2 separate regions of the Homo sapiens genome follow, and region 1 is linked to region 2. The links are contacts of gene promoters, found by promoter capture Hi-C in human tissues and cell types (Jung and others, 2019). All regions are on one chromosome and are shown on one strand. Each heading gives the region's core, a stretch centred on a gene start or on the middle of the fragment in contact. The rest is flanking DNA. Distances are from core to core; before and after follow the strand shown. Region 1 overlaps MPRIP (myosin phosphatase Rho interacting protein). Region 2 holds the start of NT5M (5',3'-nucleotidase, mitochondrial).

Region 1 (4,584 bases), core at 994-3,493, 220 kb before region 2:
CTTGGGAGGAGCTCCAGGTCTAGAAGGAGAGTGGGAGCGCCAGGAGTTTAGGGTGGAGCAGGCCAGGCCATGAGGCTTTGGGATTCTCAAGGGCCTGCTCTCCAAGGCAAAAAGCTGATCAAATGCTTTTTCCAATTTTTTTTTTTTTTTTTTTTTTTTTTTGAGACGGAGTTTCGCTCTTGTTGCCCAGGCTGGAGTGCAATGGCGCAGTCTCGGCTCACAGCAACCTCCGACTCCCAGGTTCAAACCATTATCCTGCCTCAGCCTCCGGAGTAGCTGGGATTACAGGCATGGGCCACCATGCCCAGCTAATTTTGTATTTTTAGTAGAGATGGGGTTTCTTCATGCTGGACAGGCTGGTCTTGAACTCCAGACCTCAGGTGATCCGCCCGCCTCGGCCTCCCAAAGTGCTGGGATTACAGGCATGAGCCACCGTGCCCGGTCTGTTCGAATGTTTTTAACTGTGGTAAGTACACTGGAAATTCACCATCTTAATCGTTTTTAAGTGTGCAGTTCAGTGGCATTAAGTACATTCACATTGTTGCACAACCACCACCACCGGTCTCTCTCCAGGACCCTTTTCAACTTGCTAACTGAACTGTGCACCCATTGAACTATAACTCCCTTCCCCAGCCCCTGGAAACCCCCATGCTATTCTCTGTCTCTATGAATTTGACTCCTCCAGCACCTCACATAAATGGGATCATGCAGTGTTTGTCCTTTGTGACTGGTGTATTTCACTCAGCATAAGGTCCTGAAAGATCATCCTGGTTGGTGTCAGAATTTCCTCCCTCCTGATTGTGGTAGGTCTGATGATCTTGGACCATGTCTGCTGACCCCAAGCCTCTCACACATGGAAGCCATGGAGAGACTGAGGCCACCTTCTGTGGCAGGCATGGTGCTGAGGGCCGGCCTCCATGGTGTGGAGCTCTGCTCCATCCTAGCCTGGAGAGTCCTTGAGCATCACGAGAGATGAGAGCTGCCTGACTGTGTAGGGGCTGTGCTAAGGACTCATAATCTCAGCTCACATCCTCGGACATAGTAGAGAAAACACTTCTAGCTCTTGGATATGTGCCTTTTTCAGGGGCAACCTGGGAGTTTGTCAGTCCCGTAAGATGTGAAGTTCCAGCCTGAGAAATTAATTTGGGGTGCCTGTGTACTTGTGTATAAAGTAAACAGGCTTGGTCCAAAGGATCTTCAGAGCACTCCAGGTGCAGACAGGTTAGGATTCTGGTTTATTTTGAGTTTGCTTCCTATAGGAGAGTGTCCAGGAGGTTGCCTTGTTCTTGGGACCTCTGCTCACCTCACTCTTGACAAATTTCTGCAATTTTTGGTGGTATTAAAGCCATGAGCAGCCCAACGTTGCCTAGGCCTGTGAGAGCCTAGGAGGAGGGGCATTACCGCTGAGCCCTGCTGTCTTTAGGATCTATCATTTGAGGTTTCTCTCCCTTTTCTGCAGCTGACCGCCCAGTTCCCATTGCTCCCTAAGCCATTTTTTTGCAGATGTTGCCCTGCATCAGAATCTGCAGGGCGAGGCTGGGAAACCAGTTTAAATAACCACTTTGTGTGTTTTTTTGTTGTTGTTTTTGTTTTTGTTTGTTTGTTTGTTTTTGAGATGGAGTCTCACTCTGTCGCCAGGCTGGAGTGCAGTGGCGTGATCTTGGCTCACTGCAACCTCCGTCTCCCGGGTTCAAGTGATTCTCCTGCTTCAGCCTCCCGAGTAGCTGGAACTACAGGCCCGCGCCACCATGCCCGGCTAATTTTTTGCATTTTTAGTAGAAACGGTTTCATCGTGTTAGCCAGGATGGTCTCGATCTCCTGACCTCGTGATCCGCCCGCCTCGGCCTCCCAGAGTCCATGTGATTTCTAACCACTCCATTTGAGAACTGCTGCTTCAAGCTCTGACTTTGTTTCCTCTAGCTCGGAGCTTTCCCAGGCAGGCGAGAGGAACCATCTGCTCCTCCTTGGTGCTGAGGCACCTCCCGGGCATCTGATTCTTTGGGAACCATAGTGGCTGCTGTGTCCGTAACAGAGCGGTTGAGAGGACACTAGGCCATGGAAGGCCTCTTCTGTGGTGAAGCTCATACCTTTCAGGACCCACATGAACATATGCAGACTAAATCCCTAGCAGAACCATGATGTGTAGGCTCTTAAAGGCGGTGGGTGGTTGGGGAGGCAGAGAAGTCTTCTGGGAGGAGACAGGTGGCACTTGGCTGCCTTTTCGCTCATCACAGAGATTCGGGAGGAGCCATGTGCCCGGCCGGGGCTCCTTGCTGGCACTTTCTGCCCATTCTCTATCCTACTTCTCACAATGGTAGATACCATGTCCATTTCACAGTTGAAAAGACTGAGGCCCAGAGAGATTGCGAGGTGGCTCAACTAATGAGTGACAGACCTTGATGTGTAGGCAAGGCAGACTCCTGCTGAGAGAGGGATGGTGTCTTTCCTTCACCAAGTGATCTTGTCCTTCACATTCAGAGAGGCCGCTCCACCAGCACCTGCTGCCTCGTGCGGGTGGAAAATAGGGCTTGCTGGAGGCCAGGCAGGGCTCTCAGTGTCCTTCCTGACCCTCTGGTTTGTCTGTTGCTGCAGACTGACCCAACTATAGTAGCTGACCTGTGTCTTTATTAATGCCATTGAACCAAGCTAGCTGCAGGCCTGCAACGCTGTAGGGTCCACCTGCCTTCTTTGCTACATGGGCATATGAATATATATTCAGAGAGATTTACAGAAATCAGAACAATAAGAACATAGAGCCTGTAACTGTCTGAGAGGCAGAGAAGCTTCCTTAGGCCTGGAGGCCCTTCATGTTTAAAGGACAGGAAGGGGCAAGACAGGGAACCGGGGAAGATGTTTTATGGGTCAGTCTTATACTTTCAGGTTTAGCTTTAAATCTGTCATGTTTCAGCCTTGCCCTGGCCTTTGTGCTGAGGTCCTGGTCGCAAGGGAAAGGAGGCAGGTCCTGTTGTGTGGTGCGTGGAGCCCAAGTACCTTAGGGAGGGCTTGTTGGAGTGGGGTCAGTAACTGTGGGGTCACCCAGGCCCTCTCTCCCTGTGTAGGCACCTCCCGGGCTATTCGGACCACAGGAAGCCCTGTGTTCTTTCCTCCTCTGCTCAGCTGCTCATTTCTATTTCTGTGCTGTGTGTTTTCAGAATCAGATCATTTAAAAAAACAACTTTGGACTCGGGTGTGTTTTCATCTTTACATGAGCCCCACGAGCAAGGTATGAGGGGCTGTTAATGGGGGAGGTAGCCCCCGCAGGCCCTCCCCATGCATCGCATTCCCGCGGGGTCCCTAGGTGCTTTCAGACTTTTGGTTGAGAGACTTCGGTCTTTAAGTGGAATTCTGCACGGAGTCTTAATACAAGTTTTAAAATGTATACAGTCAGGTGCTGCTTTATTTGAAGTTTTGGAATATTTCTGACCCCTCCCTCATCAACAACCCCTGCCCCTGGCAGCTGCAGAAAAGAATACACACTGACGGCTGGGTGTGGTGGCTCACGCCTGTAATCCCAGCACTTTGGGAGGCCGAGGCGAGCAGATCACGAGGTCAGGAGATCGAGACCATCTAGCTAACACGGTGAAACCCCATCTCTACTAAAAATACAAAAAAATTAGCCAGGCATGGTGGCGGGTGCCTGTACTCCCAGCTACTCTGGAGGCTGAGGCAGGAGAATGGCATGATCCCGGGAGGCAGAGCTTGCAGTGAGCTGAGATCACGCCACTGCACTCCAGCCTGGGCAGCAGAGTGAGACTCTGTCTCAAAACAAAAAGGAATACACACTGACCAGACCGGACCAACCTCCTTCTCTGCGGAATTATCCAGGTGCCCAGAGGCCCAGATCACAGACCTGTTCAGGAAAGGCACCTCTTCTTGTGCAATCATTTGATAATTTTTCCAAATGAATAAATTTATTTTTTAAAGATTTCCCAAAGTAGTCAATGTCTTCAAGCTCTTTGCCAGTGGTGACTGGTGAATGAGCAGTGCCCATGTTTATAGGTGAACTCTCAGGCACACGGAGGCTTGTGTTCACAAGGAGAAGCGGCTGGGTCCGGAGCACAGTCCATTGGCTTTCAGGGCTGGCATGGCCACGAGATTCCAGAAATTGAAGACAAGCCAAGGGTGTTGAGAAGGTTCTTCCAGGGTGTTGAGGATTTTTTACCCCTGCCCTCCACCCGACTTGACTTTTCAGGACACAGAGCCTTAGATGAGTCCCCATCCCGTCTTGATTTGGTCATGACAATTGAGATGTTGCCTATTTGTAACAATGAATTCCTTAATGAAGGAAGGTAGATTCTTGGCTGGAAGATGAGGTCTGAACCAGTGCGGTGGAGTCTGTGCGATGCTCTTTTCAGCAGCAGGGAGTTGGTGGGATAATAAGTGGGGCAGGGAGGGCCCTGCTCGACTGAGCTTCCTGTAGGCCACTTTGCCTTAGAGCATCTGTGGCCAGATTTAAGTTATTTTGAAACACTAAAGGTGAGTGAGCCAGGTCTGGGTGCAGGTGAACCCAGGTAGGATGGAAACGCTTCCTAAGTGCTGTGAAAGTAGAGGGTAGGGGTCATAAGGGAAGCTCAGAGCTGTTTG
Region 2 (4,509 bases), core at 661-3,160:
GAGGACGGGTAGATGGGGAGAAAACCAGCTGCAGAGAGGAACTACCCTTTCTGCTGAGAGCTGGACACTTGTTGGGATGAACTGCCTACCAGAGAGGAGCTACCCTCTCTGCTGAAAGCTGAACACTTGTGGGGAAACCCTGGCTATGGAGAGGAGCTGCCCACTGCAGGTCTCTTCTGAAGTATTCTGTTGCTCAATAAAGCTCCTCTTCGTCTTGCTCACTCTCCACTTGTCTGCCTACCCCATTCTTCCTGGATGCAGGACAAGAACTCGGGACCTGCCAAATGGTGGGGCTAAAAGAGCTGTAACACAGGCTGGGTGCAGTGGCTCACGCCTTTAATCCCAGCACTTTGGGAGGCCGAGGGGGGTGGGGCGGATCACCTGAGGTCAGGAGTTTGAGGCCAGCCTGGCCAACATGGTGAAACCCTGTCTCTACTAAAAATACAAAAATCGGCCGGGTGCGGTGGCTCACACCTGTAACCCCGGCACTTTGGGAGGCCGAGGCGGGCAGATCACAAGGTCAGGAGTTGGAGATCAGCCTGGCTAACATAGTGAAACCCTGTCTCTACTAAAAATGCAAAAAAGCTGGGTGTGGTGGTGGGCGCCTGTAATCCCAGCCACTTGGGAGGCTGAGGCAGGGGAATCGCTTGAACCTGGGAGGTGGAGGTTGCAGTGAGCCGAGATCCTGCCACTGCACTCCAGCCTGGGCAACAAGAGCAAGACTCCCTATCAAGAAAAAAAAAAAAAAAAGGGAGAGAATGTGGTACATATATACCATAGAATACTTCACAGTCATAAAAAAAGAATAAGATCATGTCTTTTGCAGCCATATGGATGGAGCTGGAGACAATTATCCTAAGCAAACACAGGAACAGAAAATTAAATACCTCATGCTCTCACTTAAAAGCGGGAACTAAACATTAAGTAAACATGGACGTAATGATGGGGACAACAGACACGGTGACCTACTTGAGGGTGGAGAGTGGGAGGAGGGTGAGGATGGAAAAACTACCTATCAGGAACTACGCTTATTACCTGGGTAATAATAATCTGTACACTAAACCCCCAAGACAGTCAATTTATATAACAAATCTGCACATGTATCCCTGTACTTAAAAGTTGAAAAGAGGCCGGGCGCGGTGGCTCACGCCTGTAATCCCAGCACTTTGGGAGGCTGAGGTGGGAGGATCGTTTGAGCCCAACATAGGAAGACTCCTGTCTCAAAAAAAAAAAAAAAAAAAAAAAAATTACCAGGGTGTGGTGGCAGGCCCCTGTGGTCCCAGCTACTCAGGAGGCAGAAGCAGGACGATCCCTTGGGCCCAGAAACTCAAGGCTGCAGGGAACCGAGATCATGCCACTGCTTCCACCCTGGGTAACAGAGCAAGACCCCGTCTCCAAAAAAAAAAAAAAAAAAAAGCAATACAGGGGTACTTAATATTTATTCATATATTTACCTGAGAATCATCAGTTTTACTAAGGCTGTATGATGTTAGCAGATATTGGTTCTATCAGTCTCTCCGCAGACATTTGCTGTAAATAAAGCAGAGAGGCTTTCAGAGTGCACCCTGTTTTTGTTCCTCCATCCTGTTGTCTGGATCCCCTTCTAAAACGTAAGTTCCAGGATGGCAGGAACTTTGTCTATTTGGTTCACACTCGACACAGTTAGTGCTCAAAAATGTCTAACGACACAGGCCTGCTTCTCGGTTTGCACTGCTCCTCCATGGTAGTCTGTGCAGTGGGAGAAGGCAGCCCGGGCCCAGGGTCCACGGAGAAGACGCAAATCGACAGCGCGGGAGCGCGGACCTTCTGGAGGCGCGCGGCGCTTACCGCTGTCCGTCCTCGAAGCCCCGCCCCGGGGCTCCGCCTCCGCCGGCGCGTGTTCCTTTAGGGACCGCGCGCGCCGCGGCCTCGCTCTGGGGCCGGTACTTGCGCGCCCGCACCCCGCGCTCCCCGCCCCGCTCCCCGTCCCGCGCTCCACGCGCGCCCCAGCGTTGGGGGCTTCTCCTCCGCGGCGGGAATGTCTGGCCGGCTCCGGCAGCACGGCGCGGCCCAGGTCCCCGCGCCCACGACGGGCCAGCGCGCTGGGCCATGATCCGGCTGGGCGGCTGGTGTGCGCGGCGGCTCTGCAGCGCGGCGGTTCCCGCGGGGCGGCGCGGGGCGGCGGGCGGGCTGGGCCTGGCGGGAGGCCGCGCCCTACGGGTGCTGGTGGACATGGACGGCGTGCTGGCTGACTTCGAGGGCGGATTCCTCAGGAAGTTCCGCGCGCGCTTTCCCGACCAGCCCTTCATCGCGCTGGAGGACCGGCGCGGCTTCTGGGTGTCGGAGCAGTACGGCCGCCTGCGGCCAGGGCTGAGCGTGAGCGTCCCCGCCCCGCCCCGCGCCGGGCCTCCTTCTCGCCCCGAGCCCCAGACACCGCCCCTGCGCCGGTGACCTTGGACGGTCAGCGCCCCAGCCTCGGGGTGGCCCTCTGATAGAATAGGGTCTGGGGGGGACTAGGGGCCACAGCGCACCGGGAAGATGCGGCCCCGCGCTCAGGATCTGTTGGCTGCCATCCAAGGTTTCTGAAAATGCGGGAGAGTACAAAGTGTTAATATACCTAACTCTGCATTTAAAGCTGACTTCAAAATTTGTGGCATATTTGGCCTCAAGTCGTTTGTTAAATTTTTAGAAAAATAAACGTTATAAGTTGTCCTCTTTCACCCCGACCGCAGTCACATTCCCACTTCTTTGTCCCCAGGACTTTGATGGGTGTCTTTACCCATCTTTTTTACTGTTGTCCATGAAAGCATAGCTTCCAGGGGTATTTGAGGCCCAGAGAGGTTGTGTGACTTTCTGGGGGTCACACAGTGAGTCAGTGGTCCAGGTGAGGTGGGATCCACCTCATGTCTTATCCCCTTGCAGAGCTGGCCTTGCTGAACACCTGAGCTCAACCCCTACCATCCGACTCCCGAGGTGTTCTGTCCAGGATGGATAGAGGGGAAAGATCCAAGGAGGGACGTTTACACACAGATCTTGGTTGGTAAATTTGAAGTATTTTGCAAAAGGAACAGGGGATTTTGGTATGCACAAAATTAAAGAGGCTGAGTGTTTTTTGGCATCCCTTGATTGGCCACCTAGGGTTGCTGCTGGAGGGTTTGATAAAGAGGAGAAGGAAGTTACAAGAGCCCGTTTTTTAGCCACAAGTTCACTGCATCCTCTCTTTTGTTGGGTAGATATTATTATCTCTGTTTTCCAGATGAGGAAACTTGCCCCAAGTCACATGCTGCTCAGGGGCTCAGTCAGGACTCAAACCCAAGTCTGTCTGCCTCCCAAGCACAGTTAGTGCTCCCCACTCCACAGTCCTGTTCTCTGTACTACTGTCTCTAACAAGTGACATTTCTTCTGACATCAGAAAGATGCCTCATCAGTAATGTGGTTTGTTGAGGGACAGGTGTTAAAAAAGGAAACCAAGTACCGTTTGTCTCCATCAACACCAGGCACTTCAGAAGGTGACTTTCACAGAGCCCAGTGTGCTGAGCTCTTCTACAGCGGATGCCTAATGATAAACTTTAAACTGGAGAAAATGCCCTGGTACTTTCTGCAGCCTCAGGAATAGGCTCCAGTGTGTGGCGAGTGTTCATTTATAGGCAGCGCTCGGCATGGGGAGTCTGGACACCATATATCCGCCCGGGAGTGTATTAACGTGGAAACCAAGCCCACCCCCAACTCCGAAAAGTGCAGCAGCTTTTCCAGTTCTTTGTGCAAATATGTAGGCTCTGTACGTGTGGGGTTACTGGTTTCCAAGCACAAGGCAAAGGCACGGGGCAGTAAGGAGGGTGCCTTGGGAGTAATCTGCTGGCTTCCACTACTTCCCTTCCTGAGGCACGGCTTGCTGCTGTGGACATCCCTGGGCCTACCCCAAGCTGGCCCAGTATCTGTGGTTAAAACAACCGCCCCCCCCCCCCCGCCCCCACACACGTGGCTCCTTATGTGTATGTAGGCATTTCTACTTTTCAAAATTCTGCTCTGTCTGTATTCCCTTTGGTCTTCACAGTACCCTATGTGGGATGTGAGGATCAAATGTGTTTCAGTAATAAGCACGCATTTGCCTAGTCCCTGTGGTTCCTGAGAGTGTTGCTGGTATGCTGTCAGGGCATCCTCCGGCCGTCCATGTGACAGGGTGGCTGTCTTTCTGTAGTGTGCAGAACAGCTGGTAGAGGCACTTCCTGTACTGCACACGTGGGATTTAGGCTCCTGCTCATAGGCTGAGATGTGTCTCCCCTCTGGTTGTCACTTTCCCCTTGCCTGACCCTAGAAAAGGTGCTGCATTCTGGCCCTGCAGCAGAACAGGGGAAGGAGAAAGGCAGCGGGGGTTGGGGAGTGGGGAGGAGAGGGTTGGTGTTGGGGGTTCTTCTCCCAGCTCAGCTGCTGTTTTGCTGTGTGACATCAGGTGGATCTCTTCCCCGTTCTGAGCCTCAGTTTTCTGACATGTAAAATGAGGGTCTGCATTTTTGCTTTGCAACTCTAAAA

The links. The method cuts DNA at HindIII sites, captures the fragments that hold promoters and counts their contacts. A contact is called where the count stands out against the background at its distance.
Region 1: a fragment that was not itself captured here is called in contact with the fragment with the promoter of NT5M in region 2 in 2 of the 25 tissues and cell types used here (liver and stomach).

The regions. Positions count from the first base shown.
Region 1 is chr17:17,082,151-17,086,734 of GRCh38, forward strand. The region is part of intron 3 of MPRIP (myosin phosphatase Rho interacting protein); the gene reads left to right. Among named protein-coding and RNA genes, the nearest start is that of MPRIP, 42 kb to the left of the region's middle. The HindIII fragment of the contact is 3,365 bases long and covers 562-3,926 here.
Region 2 is chr17:17,301,463-17,305,971 of GRCh38, forward strand. NT5M (5',3'-nucleotidase, mitochondrial) reads left to right here and starts at 1,911. Exons shown (of 5, transcript NM_020201.4): 1 at 1,911-2,355. The coding sequence starts at 2,089. RefSeq lists silencers at 1,841-2,010, 2,061-2,160, 2,291-2,480. The HindIII fragment of the contact is 23,347 bases long and covers 1-4,509 here.